Regions from separate parts of the Homo sapiens genome. Here regions 1 and 3 are each linked to region 2. Evidence: promoter capture Hi-C in 16 types of primary human blood cells and fetal thymus (Javierre and others, 2016). All regions are on one chromosome and are shown on one strand. Each heading gives the region's core, a stretch centred on a gene start or on the middle of the fragment in contact. The rest is flanking DNA. Distances are from core to core; before and after follow the strand shown. Region 1 overlaps LRMDA (leucine rich melanocyte differentiation associated). Region 2 holds the start of LRMDA (leucine rich melanocyte differentiation associated). Region 3 overlaps LRMDA (leucine rich melanocyte differentiation associated).

The links. Contacts are between HindIII fragments. The CHiCAGO score rates a contact against its expected background, and 5 or more counts as called.
Region 1: a fragment that was not itself captured here is called in contact with the fragment with the promoter of LRMDA in region 2 in 1 of 17 cell types (monocytes); the score reaches 5.8 in monocytes.
Region 3: a fragment that was not itself captured here is called in contact with the fragment with the promoter of LRMDA in region 2 in 2 of 17 cell types (endothelial precursors and megakaryocytes); the score reaches 5.3 in endothelial precursors.

Annotation. Positions count from the first base shown.
Region 1 is chr10:75,773,322-75,777,399 of GRCh38, forward strand. The region is part of intron 2 of LRMDA (leucine rich melanocyte differentiation associated); the gene reads left to right. Among named protein-coding and RNA genes, the nearest start is that of MIR606, 220 kb to the left of the region's middle. RefSeq lists an enhancer at 1,450-1,744. The HindIII fragment of the contact is 3,515 bases long and covers 1-3,116 here.
Region 2 is chr10:75,428,912-75,433,566 of GRCh38, forward strand. LRMDA (leucine rich melanocyte differentiation associated) reads left to right here and starts at 2,713. Exons shown (of 7, transcript NM_001305581.2): 1 at 2,713-2,843. The coding sequence starts at 2,814. LOC107984293 (a long non-coding RNA gene) reads right to left here and starts at 2,699. Exons shown (of 2, transcript XR_001747703.2): 1 at 2,611-2,699; 2 at 1-1,399. RefSeq lists enhancers at 2,521-3,021, 3,022-3,522 and a silencer at 2,663-2,762. The HindIII fragment of the contact is 4,872 bases long and covers 1,546-4,655 here.
Region 3 is chr10:75,899,805-75,904,091 of GRCh38, forward strand. The region is part of intron 2 of LRMDA (leucine rich melanocyte differentiation associated); the gene reads left to right. Among named protein-coding and RNA genes, the nearest start is that of MIR606, 350 kb to the left of the region's middle. The HindIII fragment of the contact is 2,028 bases long and covers 1,904-3,931 here.

The DNA of each region.
Region 1 (4,078 bases), core at 109-2,608, 340 kb after region 2:
TAGGTGAAGGGATTGACCACTCCCAGTTCTGAGCAATTTGATGGGTTCTTAAAGAAAGCACAGCCCTTGGAGCTGGGGAAGGAAGTTTGTGACTCATGGTGGTGAATCTAGGGGGTTCCTGTGTGGGTCCAGTGGAGCAGGTCTGGTGAGAGGGGACACTGGGAGCCCCAGAACTCCGAGCCCCTGGGGGACGCCAATGAAGCTGTCTATGAGAAACATGTGGGAAGAGGGAGACAGATGAATGATGAATGTTTTCCACGTCCTTGAGTTGTGGGTCACCTGAGGTCTAGGCCTGCGGTGAGGCCACTCACTCATTTCAGCTCACACTTCGCCCAGTGAGTAATATTTGTTCCAGCCTTTGGGTCACTGTTTACTCTGCCTCCCCTCTTGTCAGTTCCCTCTGGCCTTCTTTATATCTTTCTGAATATGAGTCAGTCTTCAAGATCCAGCTGAAATTCTAGCTCCTAATGGAGCTTCCTCAACTATCCTGGCCCACGTTGAGTTCTTCCTGCTCTAATGCTCACATTACTTACCAGAGCTTTTATTTGGGCATTTAATCAAAGGTAGTTGTGTTTCATTATATTCACATCTTGTGTGTTTCTCATGTCCTCACTGAGTCTGTAAGTTCCTTTAAGGCTTAGTCTGTATCATTCTTTTAATCCGCCATGATACACAGCATAGTATGAGTACATGGTAGGTGTTCAGTACATGCTAAGTGAATCAGAGTAAATGGAAGTCAGTCTTCTTGCTCATCCTCTCAGTGTCATTTATGTCTTCCAGATCCTCTCCACACACTCCAGCCCTATTTCTTTAAATAGTTTAAGGAGACAGCACATTGTTTGACAGTTCTGCAAACATAAAAAATAATTTATCTCACACTTAATTTTTATCTGAAGACAAGTTTAATATTTTCAAGCATTACATTTTTATTTTTAAGTTCTTACATCCTTTTTGTTTCTCTTAATGTCATTTTGGCTTCAAAGGGTATAATTTTGAAATTATGAGTACTGTAGGACTTGTTAGTATTTCTTCTTTGTGTGTATAATGTTTCAAGAACTGTTGATGGCTAAATGTCATTTTTATACTTTTTGGATTCATAACAGTTCAGTTAAATTCAAAAATAATTAATAATATTATGTATCTTAGAAATAGCTGTCATGTATCTGGTGGATATGACATATTGTTAGATATTTTAAGTTAAAAGTTCTGTATGCAGGCCAAGTTGAGAACGATGAGGAGCAGACTGTTTTATAGACAAGCAGAAGGATATAGTAGATTTATGACAAAGCATATTACCATAATGTAACCATGCTTGGAAAACTGTGTGGCTTCTCAACTCAAAAAATAAACTAGTGATCAGTAGCCTATCTCAAACACTTTTTTTTTTGCTTTATTTATATCTGGTTTCATTCTGAAAACAGCAAGACAACTGACAAGTTAAATAAGATATTACCACTAAATAACAACGTACCCACGGCAGTTTTCCCAGATCCTTGAGGGCAGCTTAGACATATTGGCTCTTTGATTTTTAGAACTTAAGCAGGGATGAAAGCTCTCCATAAAGGGTCATTGTTTCCAAAATGGAGCTTTCCAGGCTGGAAGGAAACAAGGCTTTCAAGAATGATATCAGCGGTGGGAGGTGTGGGGGAGGATCCCCTGGCCTAGCCTCAGTCGGGAAGTGGTTTATCTACATTCACTTAGCTCTGTCCTAGTCAATTGAAACCAACTGGCCATTAACTTTTCCTTCACAGAAGTGGATTGTTCTTCCACTGTAGATTTTGTGGGGCCTTCCTGAGAGGGGCCTATCAAGAAGGTTAGGCCTGTCCACACAAGGATTCTCCATGTTATTTTTATAGGAAGAGGTCAGATTTAGCCTTTGCAATTCTTTTGGTCTGACTCAAACAAGCATTGGAGATTTTCCTCTTATAAATCTGTTTTTTTGAGATGGGGTCTTGCTATGTTGCCCAGGCTGGAGTGTAACAGCTATTCATAGGTGCAACCACAGCACACTACAGCCTCAAACTCCTGAGCTCAAGCAATCCTCTTGCATCAACCTCTCCAGTAGCTGGGACTACAGGCATGCACAACTGTGCCCGGCTTCCTTTTATAAATAGGTTTTCAGCTTGCAAAGAAATGAGCGACAGCTTATTGCATTGATTCTAACAGTGTTGTATCCTCAGGTATTGGAAAATTCCACTAGTGGTCAACATAATGGGTCATGATGTCCCATGTGGGGACTTAACCACAGTCAGTATGATCCTGGTCCAGTGGTCCCCCGAACATGTGTGAGTCATATGTAATGAGGATGTAAGCAGCTCTTGTGCGTGGGGAAACCTCCCACATCCCACTGAGGAGTCTCTGTTTGAGCTACTCCAAAGGAATCTCTTGGTGGCTCCACAGAGCAGTCTTCTTGTTCCCACCTCAATTCTTATGGCATTGTCCAAGGTAGCAATGTTCCTGGCTGTCTTTTCACAGTCTTACTTTCAAGGAGCTCCAAAACCTCTAGAGATCTCCAGCGTAGAGGTAGACCTGGAAACATGACAAGTGCAGGCCTTGGGGATGCTGACTTAAGATTCTGAGGCAGAAGAAAAGTGTAGAGAGCACACTCCTCTGTTTGCCTCAGACCTGGGGGCCAGGACACTGAGCCTGCTATGAATACCCAGCTTGAGGAGTTTAGTTAGCAAACCATGAGGCTACTATAATTTGCTTTAATATCTGCCTCTTTCCCTTTGCTGTTGATATTAATTAACCTTACCCCAAACTCAAGGAGAAGCAGAGAAGAAGCTATTTACAACTTCCTTTATTATTGATCAACTCAGAACCACATTCATTCAGTGCCACTTAGATGCTGAACACTGAGGAAAGCATTGTGGACCAATGATGGAGAAAGCCTTTTACAACTGCTGCTATTGCTGCTTTTTCTCTCGAGAACTTGAGAATTTGGGTCCTGGAAGAACTCACAGAGATGATTCAGTCCAGTAGTTCGCAAGGTTCTAGAAATCATCTGGGGGCATATTGGAGGAAGAAGGGACCCTGATCCACTCTCAGAAACCACTAGGTTTTCCTGTACTATTTGTTGGACTTGATTTGGAAAAAGAGTTCTGCATGCCAACATAAGCTTGAAATGCAGCCTTCTTATTTTACAAAGGGGGAAACTGAGGTTCATGGGCCAGAAGGAACTTAAGATGGAAATTTGGGGATTATTTCCCATTCCATGTTTGGCTGTATCCCTGTAATATTTTCAGTGCTATTTTGGGATTCATATTTGTATCAGTTACCAGAGATTGGTTCCCCTAAGTAAATCAATTGGACACTATTAGCAAGGGAATTGCATGCTGTACATTTTACCCTGTCTTAGAGAGAAGAAAAGTTCCTATCTCCTGTTTGCATATCTTTTATGAAAACAATTTAAACCGCACCTGTTTAAACCTTTCCACAGAAATGTCTGAAAGGTAAACAGTTGGTTTTGGAGCAGCTATAACGTGGCATTGTTTAACATGGCAGCTCACTGATGGTTGTCTTTAATTATGGCCGTGCTGTCAACCCCTGAAGTCCCTGCTCTTTGTTGTAGATCCGATATGACGTTTGAGGTTTTCAAAGCTGCAGAGATGAAAGAATCAACAGTCAAATATTGCTCATTCTGATATGCTTAAGGAGCGAGGAGGGGGCATTGCCCATGAGGGCTGCAGAGCCGGGGAGGGAAAGCTGGTGCCCTCTGCTTTTGATGGCAACCTTGAGTGGGGAGCCGGGTTTACTCTGTTTGTAAGGGAGCAGGGCCAAGGCTGGGGGAGACGGAAATGATTTATTCAGTGATGGTAAACAAGTGCAGAGTACAGGCTGCCGAGCTGTGCAGGGCTGGTGGGAAAGCTGGCTGTCTCTTGCCCCCAGCAGTTTGAACATTAAAGATGTGAAGCTCAAAGCAGACCCAACAAGGCTTTCTGGAACCTCCCCCAGCCCCTTCCATTTCCTTTGTCTTCAATCTCCCAGAGCTGTGTGTCTCTGGGCCATCACATACTGCTGCTATTCAGGGTGTTAATTGTGGGTTGGTCCCATCTCAGACCAAAGGTAGCCTTTTGGG
Region 2 (4,655 bases), core at 1,463-3,962:
CCCCGAGGGAGGGCTACATTATGGAGGAACTTTACTATTTCTGTTTAATCTTCCTTTTTGTTGGCAACAGTGATAAGGAGGTAGAAGGATGTTCCCCCTCCCGGCTTCCAATCTTCCTTGGTCCAGGGACACAGATTCTTTTTCTTTTCCTTTTACCTTTCTCCCTTCCCCCCTTCCTCCTTCTGTTCCTTCTATTCTCCTTTCCCCTCCTCCTTCTCCTTGTTCTTCTATTCTGAAGACTAACTCCAAAAGCTGAGGAGTAAGGACAGGTGAATCCAGTTTGTTTCTGCTGGTGTCCTCCCCCAACAACATTCAGGAAATTACTTCTGCTACGGTCTGAACATTTGTGTCCCTCCCAAATTCATATGTTGAAATCATAACCTCCAAGGTCTTAGGTGGAGCCTTGTGGGGGGTGATTAGATCATTGGCGTGGAGCCCTCAGGAATGGGATTAGTGCTGTTACAAATGAGGCCCACAGGAGCTAGCTTGTCCCTCCTACCATTTGAGGACACAGGAAGAAGGCCGTTGTCTGGGAACCAGAAAATGGGCCCTCACCACACACCAAATCGTGGGTGCCATGATCTTCAGCTTCCCAGCCTCCAGAACTGTGAAAAATAAATTTCTATTGTTTATAAGCACCCAGTTTATGGCATTTTGTTACAGCAGTCCTAGTAGACTAAGACAACTACTTTGCTCAAGAACTTTCAATAGCTCCCTATTGTTATCAGTTTACAGTTCCAACACTAAAGCCCCCCTCCAACAGAGCTATCCTGATCTTAATTTTTGTGATTTCTGCACATGATCCTTCCCCACACCATCAACTGGCCTTCTTGATGTGTTCACCAAGCAGAGACAGCAGTAGGTGGGGAAGCATTTCCAGCTGAAACTAACAGCTTCTGTGAAGCCAGAGGACGGGAGAGCTGGGACAGGTGGCTGAAGAGGTAAGAATTGATGGGATTATAAGAGATCTTCAGGGACATACTAAAGATTCTGGACTGTATTAATTATTACTTGATTAGGAGCCATTGAAAGATTTTAGGTAGGATCTAATTGGGCTTTTAAAATGGTTGCCCTGGGGCTATGTGGAGGAGGCAACAGTAGTGAGAGGGTGTGGAAAGGGGGAAAGATGCCAGCCCACTTTGGTGACATTGGTAGTGTCTGCAGAACAGCCTATGCTCAGATGACCCAGCTGTGTATGGAGGCAGGGGGATGGATGAGATGACCTTCAGTAACCCCCTTCTGGTGGGGGAAGGGAGAGCCGTTCTCCAATCTCATCTTTGAGTCAGCTTGGGCCTGTTTCCACAAGTCCTCTTCCATCTGTCAAAGCCCTTCTAGGAAAGCTGAGCTGAAAGGCAGCTGCGGAGGGCAGAGTGCTGGCTGGGTCCGGGCTCACTTCCTCCTTTTCAGGCAGGAAAAGCAGACAAAAGTGCACAATGGACCAGAGAGGGCGCGTCCAGCAGAGAAGGAGGGAGAAGGCGGGGGAGCTGGTCCTTGGGGCAACAGGCCTGGGAAGGTTCCCTTTGATCCCCTTATCTCTGGAGGGTAAGCTTTCTTTTTTGGCCTGCAGGACCTTTTGTTGCAGCATTTCCTGGAATCCCCCAAAGTAAACACAGTCAAGACTGCATTCTTACTGCTCTACTCTTCTGAGCCTGCTCCTCCCAGCTGAGAGAGGGGCAGGAAGGTCAACCCTCCGAGATCAACACTGCTCATCAAAATGCTGACAAGGGCCCACCTAACAATGTGTTAGGACCGGGGCTGTCTGAGAGACGATGCCAGTTAAGGCTGGGCTGGCTCTTAGCTGCAGCAAGAGTGGAAGATGACAACCAGTTGATATCTGGTAGCTCTGTGCATCCTGGACTTGGAGGCAAGAATAGGCAAGGAGAAAATCTGGATCCTTCCAGAGAATTTCAGAGAAAAACAGGCATGGGTTTAGGGAGTTACCTGCCCACTGGGCCTACTTTCATCCAGACAGGAGGCCCGTGGCCAGCTCTTCCAGGTGGGGATGGGGTGGGTGGGGAACAGCGAATAACCCCACTGATAACTTCAAGCCTCACAAATCTCTTGCCCTCTGAGGAGCAGGAGAAGAGAAGCCTGAAATTTGGGGTCACCAGCCAATTATCCTTCCCCAGGGTTTATTATTGTCAACTCTTAGAGGCCACAGGGAAAGGGTGGGGTGGTCTTCACCAAGCCAGCGTTTTATTTATAGGGAAATTCAACCCCCCCAATCCCCCTCCCCTCCTACAAATGGAAACTGGGCCGCACCAGGAGTCCTTCAACCTTCTAACTTTCCCTCTCCCCAGCTTTGATGAGGAGGGGCGTTCAGCCAAGAGGCCCCTCCTCGCTGCAGTTGAGGTCCATTATGTAACCCAGCTTGCGAAATGCAGGAAAGGCCCGGCTGGCTACAGCCCGGCTAACGGCTCAGAAAGGGCGCCCCTGATAGGAATACCCCCACCTCAGGCGTGGCCCAGACAAACGCGATAAAGCTGTGGGCATGGAGTTTTGGGCATTGGGACATCCGGGGGAGGGAGGGGCGCGGGCAGTCGGGGTCAGGCCGCCGTCGGGGCGCGGGGCGCTGCGGGCCACCTGTTGCAGCGGGCGGCCAGGGCTCACCTGCGCGGAGACCGGGCCGAGGGGCGGCGGCGGCGAGCGGCGGAGCTGAGGTCCCCGAGGCTAGCCCGCGCCTCCGGCTTCCGCCGGGTCAGCTGACTGCCCAGTGCGGAACTGTGCGCCCGCCGCGCTCCCCTGCCGCGCTCCCCGCTGCTGCCGCCGCGCCCCCGCGCTCCGTCCCGCGCGCCCGCAGCGTCCTGGCCGCCATGGCCGGGCTCGTGGTGCGTGGAACTCAAGTAAGTCCCGGCCAGCCCCGCCTCCGCCCGGGGCGCAGTCCGCGTGGGGAGGGACAGCGGGGCACAGAGGCTCCCCAGGGCCTAGACACCCCTGTCCCCGCCTCAGGGGGCTGCGTCTGCAGGGGGTGAGCTTCAGGTGCTCAGGCTCGCCCTAGTGGGGCTAGGACAGACCTCGTTTCGGGCCTGGCACACCCCCTTGATGTGCGGGAAGAACACCCGCAAGGTCTCCCGTTCTCCCCACTTCCTTCTGCCCTTAGCGCCTCACTGAGCAGGCCCAGCGGACACAGTGCTGACGGCCCCCGCTGCTTTTGGGGGCCCACAGAAAATGTTCCAATTTCATAATCTGAATTTTAAAAACTTTTGGTCAAAGAATCCATTTTGATAAATCACATTGATATAGTCATCTTTATACCAATGCAGTTGTAATATACAAATTTACTTATTTGTAAATGGAGGAAGGGGTTTATGAAGGCAAAAGTGTCTAGGGTACCCAAAGTCCCAGCACATCCCTGGAGATGAGGGTGCTGGTGGGCCCTGCGCTGAATGGGCTACGCCATAGCCAAAGGCTGATGGAAGGCCACCGACCTCCAGTTCTCTTTCCACACTCGATTTCTTGAACAGGAGTCTGTGATGAATGGCAACACGCCAGTTTCAATCCTGGGTGCCAGACACCCAGTCTCACATGCTTTGAGCTCTGTAGTGAAGCCTCAGGTGTTCATTGTTGGAGGGATGAACCCAGCCACTCTGGGACCAGGTGTCTTTCTTACCTGCTGGAAAAGCCAGTTCTCTGTCTTTAACCTCTTCTCTGCTCTGATGAAGCCAGAGCCCTCTTACTTCCCACCTTTCCCTGCACACCCTGGAGAAATAGTTCTGAGTTTTTGAAGCTCTCCTCTTGGATTGCCTAAGGCAGGTAGTGTCAGGCACAATTGGATTTTGAGATTACTTTGGGCTGAAGGGAATGATTCCTCCTTAGAGGAGATTCTAGGGGTTTTTACAGCTCCTACAGATGCAGTGAGGGCCAACTGTGCAGCCCATTAAACTAGCCGCTGCCTGTTTTCTTTTTTTCCAGAGTCCTGTCGTTTCATCAGGTACACATGTTTATTGAGTGCCTACTGTATGCCAGGCACCATGCCAGGTGTTGTTGGAAATTAGCCTTTCCTTTGTCTCTGTGCACCCCCCATTTAACAGTTTTGTTGCTCAGGAATGCTGGCTCTGTCCCTTGACCCACAGCCTGGGAGGAGAGAGCTGGAGAAAGACCAGAGTTCAGAAGTGAGTTAACAGCCTGCGGAGAGGCTAAAAATGACGGGTCTTGTTCAGCCATCGGGGAAAGGGGCTTTTTTTTTCTGGGAGTTAATTTACTGCCTGGAGGGAGGGGCTGGACAAGAGGGTCTTTTCCTTCTCTTGGAGTATCTACCTAAGAAGGAGGGTTCCCTGCCCCCCAGACCCTAGGTCTCTCTGCGTTTCAGATTTGGTGTTCTCCCGGTGTACCTTGCTACAAGTTCATGGGGCTGAGCACTTTCCTGTGCTTCCTTTCCCTTTGCTCTTCCTCCGTTTCCTAGATTCGATTTTTCCTGCAGCCCCTGTTCTTAGCCTACTCCAAACAGCCCAAGGGCATTCATGGAAGTGTGGGTGAGGCATTTTAGGCCCTTGGGGACTGTTTTATTAGACCGAGTTGCCTGGGGAGGAGCTAAGAAGGTAGGCTGGGAAAATGCCCCTGGAGTCTTAGTGCCCCATTTCCTAAACTGCCCAGGTTAGTGGATTTGAGTGTCTGGCCCCGGAGGTGGTTTTTTTGTTTGTTTGTTTGTTTGTTTG
Region 3 (4,287 bases), core at 1,668-4,167, 470 kb after region 2:
GGTTTCACCTTCCTCTCCAATGTGTTCAACTCCCTTGCAGGAATGTTCTTGGGGGAGCACTCTGCAAATCCACATCAGGCCCAGAAGAGAAATGTTTCTTTGAAGACCTGTCTCTATTAATTTGCATAGATATTTGTGTATGATTTTATTTACATTGGTGAGGCAGAACAGTAGTTCTCCAGCTTTGATGTGTGTGAGCCTTGGAGATTAGAGCTGGGGCTCTTCCTTTGAGAAAACAAATACTTTTGTGTTGATTTCTATGAGATATAAATCATACCCAGGAAGTTTACAGTTGAGTAAGAATGGTATAATTACTGATTGTATACCAGAAGCGGACATATTTATGAAAAGACTTGAAAAAGCTTGTAATCCCTTCCCGTATTTTGAATAACTAATTGCTATGTCATCCTGGCATATTTGCACCACAAGAGTTAAGTCTGTCAAATGTTTCCCTCTGAAAACCTTGTTTTAAGGGATTTCTAACTTGGTCGTAAAACTGTGCTCCAAGTTGGAGCTGACTTGATGGGAGTCTGTGCTTGGAAGGCTTGATTTGAATGGTGCCAGTCAGAGTTAAATTACAGGCTGGGAAAAAGGAAACAAAATTTTTAAAAAGGAGGTGTTTATGGTTCCCGGTTCCCCTAAGTACTTCTTGAGGATCAAAATAGCCTCTTTAAAATAAATTGCAGACCATTAGTACATGATGGAGGAAACCCCTTTGAGACTAGATTGGGGGAGGGGAAGGCAAGGGCACAAGAAAAAAGAGATTGATTTGGGCCACTTTCAGCCTGTGCAGTGCATTGCCCCCCAGCCCCCGCAGCATGCCCCTGGAGGGGTTAATGCACACAGATGGCCTTTCATGTACCCACAGTTGCCATTTCTGTCAGTCTAAGTGGACCTCACTGCAGATCCACTCCAATTCTGAATCTTGATTGGAATTTGGGTTTCTTGGAATGTGTTCTTCCTCCATGCCCACCCCCCCACCTTTCTTTTTCTTTTTAAACAAATAGAACACTATTGCCTGCCATCTTATGCCCTTATGGATCATAAAGTCTTACTGCATAGGACCTTGAGTATATCCTGTCTACGCTGAACTAGAGATAGCTGCTGGATAATCATATTTGCAGAGATTTCTTCATACTTGATGCCAGACATTCAAGCCAAAAAGGTAGTCCTTGGCTGGGAGTATTTATTTGATCCCCTACGTAGAGCCAGCTTAGGTATCTCTCCCATCCATCAACAACAGACAATTCAAGATAATGAGAAAGAGAGAGAGGGAGACAGAGAGGGAAAGGGAGATGCAAGAGGAGGAGGAGAGGAGGAAGAAGAGGAAGAGAGATTGTTTCTATCTCTGTGTGAGTCACCTTGAACTCCAGTGGTCTGGGAGTAGCCTCTGTGCTCTAGCACTTACCATCAATGGAAGTGGGACAGATTTATGGCCTGGCATGTTCAACCTGAATTCAAATCTCCTTGTCTTTTTAAGATTTCACTCATGCCTTAATGACACCTTTTTTTTTTTTTAAGAAAGCTAATTGCATTGGTTTCTCCAAGAGGCATCACTTTGAACAATCCATCCTGACTGTGAAAACAAATATATGCTTGACTTATTTCATTTATTTTCTCCCAAAACCTAAATGAGGATAAAGCCATTCTGGATAAGAAGACATGTGTGTGTCTTTGTCACATCTTTTATCATCATGACTGCTTTTCCAAATAATACAACTTGTGACAAATGCGAACATTAATTACAGTTAACAAAGAAATGTCATGTGAAGTATTCATGGGGGGAGAAAAAAGAACCGAGACAATCAATGAGATTACATCTTGCACCAAGCTTCAAGTCAAAGTGCAAAAGTCAGAAATCAAATACCATCAGTTATCAAATTATGTTAATGATTCTAATGAAAGCTTCTGGTATTTTGTTCAAGAGTGTGTTGCTGTAATGGTAACTAATAGAACAAGAGAAGCTGATTGCCGCGAATTAATTAGAACTGACTGCTGGAGTTTCCTTTTTATTTATTTATTTAAATATTGACAACCTGTTTTAGATCTCGAGGTTTTTCACGTGGTCTTTTTCTTCGCTCCCCAAGTCATCAACCTGCCAAGGAGTGAGAATGTAATTGTGTTTTCTCATACTGTGGATATCTCTCACCAGCCTCAGGGTTTTGACCCAGACTGACAGCAGACAAATTAAACTGAAGTACCCCTAACATTTGGGGGGTTCAGTATGAGAGTCCAGATGAGGCCCCTTGCTCAATGCTCCCTTCTCTTTTCCTTCAGCCCCACATTCCCCCCACAAGAGGCCTTTGCACACATCCACATGGGCACCCAGCTTGCCCATCCAAGGTCTACCCACCAATGGCTGCTCTTTGGCTACCCCTTGGCCTTAGGGGTGCATGCCCGTGGCACCATGCACTATTGAGAGATAGGACCCAGGGAAGAGGTCATTGCAGGCGCTAGAAATGCTTAGGGTTGTTTGAGAAGTGAATTTTGGGTTCCGGGTAATCATAACATGGTCTACTAACTGGGGAGTAGGCTCCAGGTTGGAAATGCCCTTGTTCCCTGGACCTCTTTATCCCATAGGGGTGGGAGGGGATGGAGGAGGGCCAGAGTGGGCCTTCTAAAGTGCTTGGCCTTGGGCAGGGGGCTCTAGTTACTTGGATCTAAAAGCAGTACCGGACATGCATATTCTTTGCTTTGGGGTATCTAGAGCTCTCTCACTAAAATCTATTTTATTCTTTCTGTTTTTGTTTGTTTATTCATTCCTTCATTTATTCAACACTCACTTGGCACTGACTGTGCCAAGCTCTAGGACACAGGAAAATAAGGTCTCTCCCTTCAGGGATCTCACGGGCTTTTCAAATTTGTAATGCATTAATAAATACTAGATAGAGATCTGTTCAAAGTTCTTTGCCTTCCAGATCTGCCTTGTATTCTGTCCTCTGAGTGCTGTTCTTTTCTTCTTTATCATGGCAGCAGGTGTTACAGATCCTGTGGCAGTGAGGAGGGCCAACCCAGGGCTTAGAAGAGGGGACTGACTCTGGTTCCCCCGACAACCCCCCGTGCTGCTCCTTTAGGGCTCCCCAGGGGCCCTTCAGAGCTCCCACCCTCTGGCCAGAGAAATGTCCCCACTGAATCCAGATCAGAAGCAGATAAATGGAGAGTCTGGCAGGGGGCATCAGTCCCACAGAGAATCTTCTACAGCTATAGTGAAAACGCCCAGTCTAGGAGGGGCCGTTCTGACTGATGACTCCAGGCAGCCTGAACCAGGATCCTTTTGTGGAGCTTCTGCCTAGAAAGTGAATTGTGTTAAAATCAACGTATCTTGCTCTCATATTAAAATCCCTCTCTCTATTTAAGTCATTGAGGGAATTTCCTAAATTTTCCACCATGGAGGGAAGGTTTTGGTTATAATACCAAATGGATATTGACAGGGCCTTGCTCTTAGAAAACTAATCATGACATCTGGGTAACTGAGCACAGGTCAGCTCTGAAGCCCTCCCTCCTGGGTGTCGGGAAGCACATCAGACTGTGTTGAATTTCCTTCGCTGGCTAAATTGGTACATTAGGGCAAAAACGATGTCCACATTTGCATAGTTGATTTCATTACTATTGCCATTATTGATGCCTAGCTCCTCTGAAAGAAAGGAGCCATAAAAGCAAATAAAATCACTTCGCGATTCCATTATTGGATAAATTACCACATTACTGCCTGCGTTTTAGGGCTAAAGCCATTCCCCGCATTTGCATAGTTTATTTCATTATCATTATTAATAACAACAACAATAATAATGATGATGACTAGGATCCTTGAATGAAAGGAACTAGAAAAATGCCAGAGCCTCGAGAAGTCTTTATGGACTCAGTGCGATCACTAGGAGTCCCTTTATCTGCTGCTGAAATGCAGCCACTCCGTTGCATTGCACCAACCAAAAGCTTTTAACAGAGCTCCCGTTAAAGCAGTTCAGAACATGTGGGGCCGGGTGCCTGGTTTGAGATAGTGACTAGTTACTTGTGCCTACTAAAGATTTAGGTTGGGAGTCCCTGCTTAGCCCCTAACTAGTTCTGTCTCTTCAGGGATGTTGCTTAAATTCTCCAAACTTCAGCTTCTTCGCAAATGAAATGGGGATTATGACACTTGCTCTGCTGTGTGATGAAAAGCAAAAGAAATGGTGAATGTGAACATGTTCTATAGACCATAAAACTACCCATAGATTCAAGAGACTAATACTACCGTATTGAACCTTGGAATGACGGCTGTGGCTGGGATGCTGTACAGTGGAGGCAGTG